Regions from separate parts of the Homo sapiens genome. Here all the other regions are linked to region 3. The links are contacts of gene promoters, found by promoter capture Hi-C in human tissues and cell types (Jung and others, 2019). All regions are on one chromosome and are shown on one strand. Each heading gives the region's core, a stretch centred on a gene start or on the middle of the fragment in contact. The rest is flanking DNA. Distances are from core to core; before and after follow the strand shown.

Region 1 (3,244 bases), core at 105-2,604, 300 kb after region 3:
CGGAAGTGGTTGCACCCCGTGCAACCAGCTGCAGAATGAATAGGGAAAACAGCAAAGCTGTACTAGCCTCTGGTTTATCAACTCCAGACCATGAGAAAGATAACTGTAGATACAGTTACACTATGACAAGGCTAAGCACGAATCACCAACATGTTTCCCAAAGTGGGTGGTGGCCCTGAAAGTGTGTTTGCTTGTTAGATGGAATCAAGAGCTAAAATCAAAGGCTACTCCTGAACCGTTTTAGTAAGACCCGAGGTAGGAGTTCAGAAGCCTCAGTCTCAGTCCCCCGTTAAGGAAGCAGTGAATCTCAGACCGAAACATCCTGGCTACAGCTCTTGGCCCTCGTGGTCTGTCATCCCTCTTATTCCTCGACCCTGCCACTCAAGGTTCCTCAGCAAACCTTGCCGGCACAGCCGGTCGCTACACGTCCCCGTTTCCCCCCAACTTGGGTCTGGGCGCCCTCAGCCCATCAAGGGTCCGCTCCTCCGCCCGCCTGCCCCCTCCGTCTCCCTCTATCGCCGGGGCCCAGGGCCCGTCTGCTCGGCGCTCACTTCTTCGTGTAGAGCTCCTCCAGACGGTGCCACACAGCGGGCTGCCCGGGCCCGGAGTTCTGGCTCTGCTGTAGGAAGCCCGGTACGTCCTTCATGACAGCAGGAAGACCCCCGGCACAGAAGAACAACCGGGATGTCAGCACCGCGGGGATGGCTGCCGGAAATGCTCACTCACTTCCGGCGCCGAGCGGCGCGGGGCAGGCTGGGAGCGCCGTAGCAGGCCGGGGGCGGGCCCCGCTGGTTGCTCGGTTACAGCGCGTCTCTGCGCTCCGGACAAAACTCTCCGGCGTTTGCAGCCCACTTCCCGCGCACTTGGCTGTGCCATTGAGGCGTCAAAGAGTGTGGGCGCCTGTGGTCGAACCCGCTACGGACTAGCTTTGTGGTGTCAGCCTTTGTGACCCGGAATTGCTCCTGTCAAATGAGGATCTTCCCAGTAGTGTTTTGCGAGGATTAGGTGTAAATATAATGCCTGACCATAGTAAAAGCGCTCAGAAAGTATTAACTATCACCGCCATCCGGGTTGAAAAAGGTGTGAGCGCAGGGTACAGAAATGCTGGCTCCAGGTTTGACCTCCGGGGCGAGAGATGAGACACCAGACTAGGGAACTTCCTCTACTCGCCTCTACGTCTACCTGGGCGCGCCGGAGGCGTCGGCAAGGAGGCGGGGGCGGGGCGCGGAGGCGGGACCGGGGCGCCGGGGGCGGGGGCGGTAGGCGGAGGCGGGGCTGGGGCGCCGGGGGCGGGGGTGGGAGGCGGAGGCGGGGCCGGGGCGCCGGGGGCGGGGCGAGTCCGGAGGACTCCTTGGACTGCGCGGAACATGGCGTTCTGGGGTTGGCGCGCCGCGGCAGCCCTCCGGCTGTGGGGCCGGGTAGTTGAACGGGTCGAGGCCGGGGGAGGCGTGGGGCCGTTTCAGGCCTGCGGCTGTCGGCTGGTGCTTGGCGGCAGGGACGATGTGAGTGCGGGGCTGAGAGGCAGCCATGGGGCCCGCGGTGAGCCCTTGGACCCGGCGCGCCCCTTGCAGAGGCCTCCCAGACCCGAGGTGCCCAGGGCATTCCGGAGGCAGCCGAGGGCAGCAGCTCCCAGTTTCTTCTTTTCGAGGTATTTTGGGCAAGGACAAGCACTTCTTGCGTGTTCGTTGTCGACACCTCGCCCACTCTTTCTCACCTTGCCGTGTTTCCTTTGCGGCATGTCTGGGAGTTTACGTGCGTTCCAACACCGGGGCCTCCGTCTTTATGCTGATCTGTGGACGTCACTTATGGGGGTTTTGTCGTTTATTTCACCATTCCCTCATTGAAATACGTTCTAACCTTTAGTTATTGTGCATCATGCTGTGGTGAATAACCTTGTTGGCACCTCACTGTTTGCATAAATTCCTAGTACTGGGATTGCTAGGTCCAAAAGTATATGCATTTAACGCTTTAATGATCCCTCATAAATGTTGTGCGGTTAATACTCCCACTGGCATGTGATCGTACCCGTCTCCATAGTAATTGCATCTAAGAACTGAGGCTACATAGGAAAAAATCTTAAGGTCCATGGTTGTTAGGTATCAGATGCCCTATAATGGATGAATATTTAAGTAAATAATGGCACATTGACTTGCTGTCTGACACAACTGCTGAAAATGTTGGTGAAAAGTGAGTCTCGAAGTGGTAGCTCACACTTGTAATACCAGCACTTTCGGAGGCTGAGACGGGGATCGCTCGAGGCCAGGAGTTCAAGAGCAGCCTGGGCAACATAACGAGACCCCCATCTCTACCAAAAATTTAAAAATTAGCCGGGCATGGTGGCGCAAGCCTGTTGTCCCAGTTACTCCTGAGACTAAGGCAAGAGGATCCCTTGAGTCCAGGAGTTCAAGGCTGCAGTGAGCTATGATTGAGCCACTGCACTCCAGCCTGGGTGACAGAGCAAGACTCTTATCTACCTGTGGGAAAAAAAAAAGAAAAAAGTTTAATAGATCCTGAAGAGTTGGCCGGGCGCGGTAGCTCACGCCTGTAATCCCAGCACTTTGGGAGGATGAGACGGGTGGATAACGAGGTCAGGAGTTCGAGACCAGCTGGGCCAACATGGTGAAACCCCATTTCTACTGAAATTACAAAAATTAGCCGGGCGTGGTGGCGGGCGCCTGTAATCCTAGCTACTCAGGAGGCGGAGGCAGGAGAATCACTTGAACCCGGAAGGCAGAGGTTGCAGTGAGCCGAGATGGCACCATTGCACTCCAGCCCGGGCGAAAGAGCAAAAACTCCGTCTCAAAAAAAAACAAAGATCCCGAAGAGTCAGTCGTTCATCCAAGAAGCCCTGACTGAGCTCTTATTCTGTGCCAGACTCTGTTCTAGGTGCTATGGATGGAGCAGGGACCAGGACCTACAAACACGTGGAGCGCATTCTAATATCTGTGATACTCTGCAAAACTGTTAAAACAAATCCTTGCGGCCGGGCGCGGTGGCTCACGCCTGTAATTCCAGCACTTTGGAAGGCCGAGACGGGCGGATCACGAGGTCAGGAGATCGAGACCATCCTGGCTAACACAGTGAAACCCCGTCTTTACTAAAAATACAAGGAAATTAGCCAGGCGTGGTGGCGGGTGCCTGTAGTCCCAGCTACTCGGGAGGCTGAGGCAGGAGAATGGCGTGAACCTGGGAGGCGGAGCTTGCAGTGAGCCGAGATCGCGACACTGCACTCCAGCCTGGGCAA
Region 2 (3,110 bases), core at 304-2,803, 320 kb after region 3:
ACAGTCAGGGCCACCCCGTCACATATACAAAGGAGCTGCCTGCCTGTTTGCTGTGTTGAACTCTTCACTCTGCTGAAGCTCCTAATGGAAAAAGCTTTCTTCTGACTGTGACCCTCTTGAACTGAATCAGACCAACTGGAATCCCAGACCGAGTCTGCTTTCTGTGCCTAGTTGAACGGCAAGCTCGGCATCTGTTGGTTACAAGATCCAGACTTGGGCCGAGCGGTCCCCAGCCCTCTTCATGTTCCGAAGTGTAGTCTTGAGGCCCTGGTGCCGCACTTCTAGCATGTTGGTCTCCTTTAGTGGGGCTATTTTTAATGAGAGAAAATCTGTTCTTTCCAGCATGAAATACATTTAGTCTCCTCAAAGGGACTGCAGGTGTTGACATGAGTTGGAAAGGGAACCCTGGGATACGTGGCGTCCCCTCTATTGGAACAGTCTGAGGACTGAAGGCATTTGTCCCTGGATTTATTGGAGACGGCCCAGCTCCTCCCTCTGAAGGTGGTCACATTCTGTTGACTCTCCATACTCAGCCTCTCCTCCAGAAACAGATCTGTTCCAGAACATTCCAGCACTTTCTATCTGGCCTCCTTGTCCCCACACTACGCCCCCCCACCCTCGCCAGGGCTTCCTCTAGTGACACTGTTAGAGCTAATCTCTGAGACAGGGAAGGCATTACTCACTTAAAACCCAGGCTGAGTCCTGGCCACCTGCTGGATTGTGACATAGGAGGTGGAATCCACTGAACTGCTACTTCTGCACAGGCTCCTTCTCCTGGGGCTGTACCCAGGCCCAGCCCTGATGGCTCACCCTGTCAGGCACCAGCTGCTCCCTCCTGGGCTCTCACCCACCTGCACATCCTCCTTCCTAGCATCACATTACCTGCGTGTTTCCCCAGACAAAAGCACTTCCCATTCTTGAACCTTGCCTACCCTGGGCTGAGCTGACGGCAATAGATTTAATGACAGTGACTCCCAGGAAGGGGGTCCTGTGACTTTGCGCCTTAATAAGAACAAAAGGTGGAATTGGTGACCTAGGAAAACTGTTGAATTCTAAAAAGAATGAAGTTAGTTTCTAACCCTAGTTAATGTTCCTTTTTTATTTTTTGAGTCTTGCCCTGTCACTCAGGGTGGAGTGCGGTGTTATGATCTCAGCTCACTGCAACTTCCGCCTCCCGGGTTTAAGCGATTCTCCTGGGTAGCTGGGATTACAGGTGTGTCCCACCACACCTAGCACATGGGCATATTTGTAATAGAGACAAGGTTTTGCTATGTTGGCCAGGCTGGTCTCGAACTCCTGGCTTCAAGTGATCCACCCACCTCGGCCTCCCAAAGTGCTGGGATTACAGGCATGAGCCACTGTGCCTGGCCCCTTTATTTGATAATTTACACATACATTTTTGTCCAAAACTCTTCTTTATTTCAAGATGATGTTTCTGTGGCTATGTGTGGTATGTGGTATAAATCTCAATCTATGGTCACACGAGGGGCATTTTCCTTGTTGTAAGTGTAGTCTAAACCAGTAGGAAGGAGGTTTAATTGCCAAAACCAGCGAGAACTCGGGCACTGTGGATACTACAGTGGGCAGCTGAACGAGGACCAAGGAGAATGTCTAAGAGGCCTCCAGCCCTGCGCTCAGTGAAGACAGGACAGGAACAACAGAGCATACATACCTTGGAAGGGTGTGTTCTGATATACTCGTATGGAAAGTTCTGACAGGTTTTCTCCCTGGGAAGTGCAGCACATACCCCAACACACTGGCTCTGCCAGTGTGCCAATCCCAGATGGTGCTTGCTTTGTGTGCACCCACACCCAAACCCCTGCCCTCCCATATGCTCTTCTGTGTGCCCAGGTAGGCCCTGCCCTCAGGCAGCAGCTTCTGAACACATTCCTCTTGGCGCAGACAAAAGAAAGTACTTCGTCTGTGGAATTCGAGGCTGAGCCTGAGTTCTAGCACAAGAAGACCGTTGCAGTCCAGAGATGAGAAACTGGACCAGAGGCAAATCATGAACAGAACGGGAGTCAAGAGAAGGGGTTTCTAAGATGGAGAAGTGGGGGCGGGTGTGGATCCAGTGGGATGTGGCTTCCCCAGGTTGCAACCCCAAGGAAGTCTCTGGAAGCAGCACCAGTCCTGATGGGGGAGCAGAAGAGCTGCCATCCTCAGTCAGGGTCCGAGTCAGGGTCCGAGGAGAGCTGCTGCTCCATAGTCTCGCACATGGCATCCTGCAGGGACGTAAGATGACCCCGGGGACTCATCCCCATTGGCTGGATGACTCTGTTCCTGTTGGGGAAAGGTGCAGTGGGGCTGGGGAAGGGGCCCAGTTGGCCAGGCAGGGGTCCTACTCACCCGTGGCTGCTACCTTCCTCTCTACCAAGTAGGCTGCTCCCATTTACTGGGGAAGCCTGGTTGGACCTTCTGTTAACTGGGCCCAAACCCTAACTGCTGCCTCCTGGCTTTAAGCAGTTTCCTATTTTAAACATCTAAATTGGCCTTAAGCAGGCTCTTAATTTGGACACTGGGCCATCTCCAATAAATCTGGCGACATTAGTCTCTTTTTTTTTTTTGAGACGAAGTCTCACTCTGTTGCCAGGCTGGAGTGCGGTGGCACAATGTCAGCTCACTGCAAGCTCTGCCTCCTGGGTTCAAGTGATTCCCCTGCCTCAACCTCCCGAGCAGCTGGGACTACAGGCGCCCACCACCACGCCCAGCTAACTTTTTTTTTGTATTTTAGCAGAGATGGGGTTTCACCATGTTGGCCAGGATGGTCTCGATCTCCTGACCTTGTGATCTACCTGCCTCAGTCTCCCAAAGTGCTGGGATTATAGGCGTGAGCTACCACGCCCGGCCTTAGACAGTCTCTTAATTTCTCTGGGCCTCAGTTATCATCTGTAAAAGGGGCACAATACTGATCTCAATATACCCATCCCCTGGGGGATTTCCTCCAGGGCAAGTGATTTCAAACGTGAGCAATGCAACCTAATACCAGGATCCTAAGCTCTCCTCTGATCCTACCTCCTGGGGCTCACAAGACAGGATGTGGGTCAGCTCTCCCTTCTCCCAGCTGCAGGCCCCTCCTCCTCATGCCACACACCTGGAGAGCTTGTCAAACA
Region 3 (2,700 bases), core at 1-2,500:
AGGCGGGCGCTGGACTGGGCAGAGGCAGGGTTTGCCTGACTGTAAAACGCCTTTTTTGTTTTGAGACGAAGTAGCGCTCTGTTGCCCAGTGCAGTGGCGCGATTTCGGCTCACCGCAACATCCGCCTCCCGGGTTCCAGCGATTCTCCTGCCTCAGCCTCCCGAGTAGCTGGGACTACAGGCGCGCGCCACTGCAGCCGACTAATTTTTTGTGTTTTTAGTAGAGACAGGGTTTCATCATGTTGGCCAGGCTGGTCTTGAACTCCTGACCTCAAGTAATCCACCCGCTTAGGCCTCCCGAAGTGCTGGGATTATAGGCGTGAGCCACCGCGCCCGGCCCTTTTTGTTTTTTAATGAGGATGTATTTCTGATTCCTTTGCAATTTTAAAAAATGTTAAAAACATGTCTTTTTGGGTTTGAAAGAGCTAGGATGTGCGTCTATGTGCTTGGGGTGAGCCCTGGGCACTTCGCTCCCCTGTGGCAACTTGTGGGTACGGTTTAACTGGACCACGCTGAGCTTCTGCAGCGTTGGAACCTCAAGTTTGGGGGGACTGGGCGGGCAGGGTCGCCTGCCACGCAGGCCCGAGAAAGAGGAGAGTGGTGGAGGGGGCGTTCTCACGCCTGGCCCCAGGGCACACGGCTGCGCCCGCCGCCCGGAACCCCACCGGGGCTGCAAGCGTCCTCGGGGTGGGTTGCGGTGGGAGTAGGGGAGCTGGGGTGCGTGGTGGTAGGTGGGGTGCGCGGCCGCTCCACCTGCGCGGAAGGGCAGCCGGGCAACCGGACCCCGCGGCCACCCGGGGGCCCCCAGCTCCGAGCATCCCGCCTTGGTCCCGGCGGATCCCAGCCTTTCCCCAGCCCGTAGCCCCGGGACCTCCGCGGTGGGCGGCGCCGCGCTGCCGGCGCAGGGAGGGCCTCTGGTGCACCGGCACCGCTGAGTCGGGTTCTCTCGCCGGCCTGTTCCCGGGAGAGCCCGGGGCCCTGCTCGGAGATGCCGCCCCGGGCCCCCAGACACCGGCTCCCTGGCCTTCCTCGAGCAACCCCGAGCTCGGCTCCGGTCTCCAGCCAAGCCCAACCCCGAGAGGCCGCGGCCCTACTGGCTCCGCCTCCCGCGTTGCTCCCGGAAGCCCCGCCCGACCGCGGCTCCTGACAGACGGGCCGCTCAGCCAACCGGGGTGGGGCGGGGCCCGATGGCGCGCAGCCAATGGTAGGCCGCGCCTGGCAGACGGACGGGCGCGGGGCGGGGCGTGCGCAGGCCCGCCCGAGTCTCCGCCGCCCGTGCCCTGCGCCCGCAACCCGAGCCGCACCCGCCGCGGACGGAGCCCATGCGCGGGGCGAACCGCGCGCCCCCGCCCCCGCCCCGCCCCGGCCTCGGCCCCGGCCCTGGCCCCGGGGGCAGTCGCGCCTGTGAACGGTGAGTGCGGGCAGGGATCGGCCGGGCCGCGCGCCCTCCTCGCCCCCAGGCGGCAGCAATACGCGCGGCGCGGGCCGGGGGCGCGGGGCCGGCGGGCGTAAGCGGCGGCGGCGGCGGCGGCGGCGGGTGGGTGGGGCCGGGCGGGGCCCGCGGGCACAGGTGAGCGGGCGTCGGGGGCTGCGGCGGGCGGGGGCCCCTTCCTCCCTGGGGCCTGCGGGAATCCGGGCCCCACCCGTGGCCTCGCGCTGGGCACGGTCCCCACGCCGGCGTACCCGGGAGCCTCGGGCCCGGCGCCCTCACACCCGGGGGCGTCTGGGAGGAGGCGGCCGCGGCCACGGCACGCCCGGGCACCCCCGATTCAGCATCACAGGTCGCGGACCAGGCCGGGGGCCTCAGCCCCAGTGCCTTTTCCCTCTCCGGGTCTCCCGCGCCGCTTCTCGGCCCCTTCCTGTCGCTCAGTCCCTGCTTCCCAGGAGCTCCTCTGTCTTCTCCAGCTTTCTGTGGCTGAAAGATGCCCCCGGTTCCCCGCCGGGGGTGCGGGGCGCTGCCCGGGTCTGCCCTCCCCTCGGCGGCGCCTAGTACGCAGTAGGCGCTCAGCAAATACTTGTCGGAGGCACCAGCGCCGCGGGGCCTGCAGGCTGGCACTAGCCTGCCCGGGCACGCCGTGGCGCGCTCCGCCGTGGCCAGACCTGTTCTGGAGGACGGTAACCTCAGCCCTCGGGCGCCTCCCTTTAGCCTTTCTGCCGACCCAGCAGCTTCTAATTTGGGTGCGTGGTTGAGAGCGCTCAGCTGTCAGCCCTGCCTTTGAGGGCTGGGTCCCTTTTCCCATCACTGGGTCATTAAGAGCAAGTGGGGGCGAGGCGACAGCCCTCCCGCACGCTGGGTTGCAGCTGCACAGGTAGGCACGCTGCAGTCCTTGCTGCCTGGCGTTGGGGCCCAGGGACCGCTGTGGGTTTGCCCTTCAGATGGCCCTGCCAGCAGCTGCCCTGTGGGGCCTGGGGCTGGGCCTGGGCCTGGCTGAGCAGGGCCCTCCTTGGCAGGTGGGGCAGGAGACCCTGTAGGAGGACCCCGGGCCGCAGGCCCCTGAGGAGCGATGACGGAATATAAGCTGGTGGTGGTGGGCGCCGGCGGTGTGGGCAAGAGTGCGCTGACCATCCAGCTGATCCAGAACCATTTTGTGGACGAATACGACCCCACTATAGAGGTGAGCCTGGCGCCGCCGTCCAGGTGCCAGCAGCTGCTGCGGGCGAGCCCAGGACACAGCCAGGATAGGGCTGGCTGCAGCCCCTG

The links. The method cuts DNA at HindIII sites, captures the fragments that hold promoters and counts their contacts. A contact is called where the count stands out against the background at its distance.
Region 1: a contact is called between the fragment with the promoter of SIRT3 here and the fragment with the promoter of HRAS in region 3, in 1 of the 25 tissues and cell types used here (dorsolateral prefrontal cortex).
Region 2: a fragment that was not itself captured here is called in contact with the fragment with the promoter of HRAS in region 3 in 1 of the 25 tissues and cell types used here (lymphoblastoid cells).

The regions. Positions count from the first base shown.
Region 1 is chr11:234,452-237,695 of GRCh38, reverse strand. SIRT3 (sirtuin 3) reads left to right here and starts at 1,354. Exons shown (of 7, transcript NM_012239.6): 1 at 1,354-1,648. The coding sequence starts at 1,368. It overlaps PSMD13 (proteasome 26S subunit, non-ATPase 13), which reads right to left and starts at 720. Exons shown (of 13, transcript NM_002817.4): 1 at 552-720. The coding sequence starts at 646. RefSeq lists enhancers at 469-708, 869-1,058 and a silencer at 1,209-1,288. The HindIII fragment of the contact is 7,029 bases long and covers 1-3,244 here.
Region 2 is chr11:213,400-216,509 of GRCh38, reverse strand. RIC8A (RIC8 guanine nucleotide exchange factor A) reads right to left here. Exons shown (of 10, transcript NM_001286134.2): 9 at 3,092-3,110; 10 at 1,397-2,280. The coding sequence ends at 2,160. It overlaps SIRT3 (sirtuin 3), which reads left to right. Exons shown (of 7, transcript NM_012239.6): 7 at 1-1,480. Among named protein-coding and RNA genes, the nearest start is that of MIR6743, 5.6 kb to the right of the region's middle. The HindIII fragment of the contact is 6,100 bases long and covers 1-3,110 here.
Region 3 is chr11:534,126-536,825 of GRCh38, reverse strand. HRAS (HRas proto-oncogene, GTPase) reads left to right here and starts at 1,250. Exons shown (of 6, transcript NM_005343.4): 1 at 1,250-1,410; 2 at 2,451-2,614. The coding sequence starts at 2,504. It also overlaps a transcript of LRRC56 not described here. RefSeq lists enhancers at 591-1,298, 1,320-2,176, 2,177-2,700 and a silencer at 2,154-2,313. The HindIII fragment of the contact is 24,710 bases long and covers 1-2,700 here.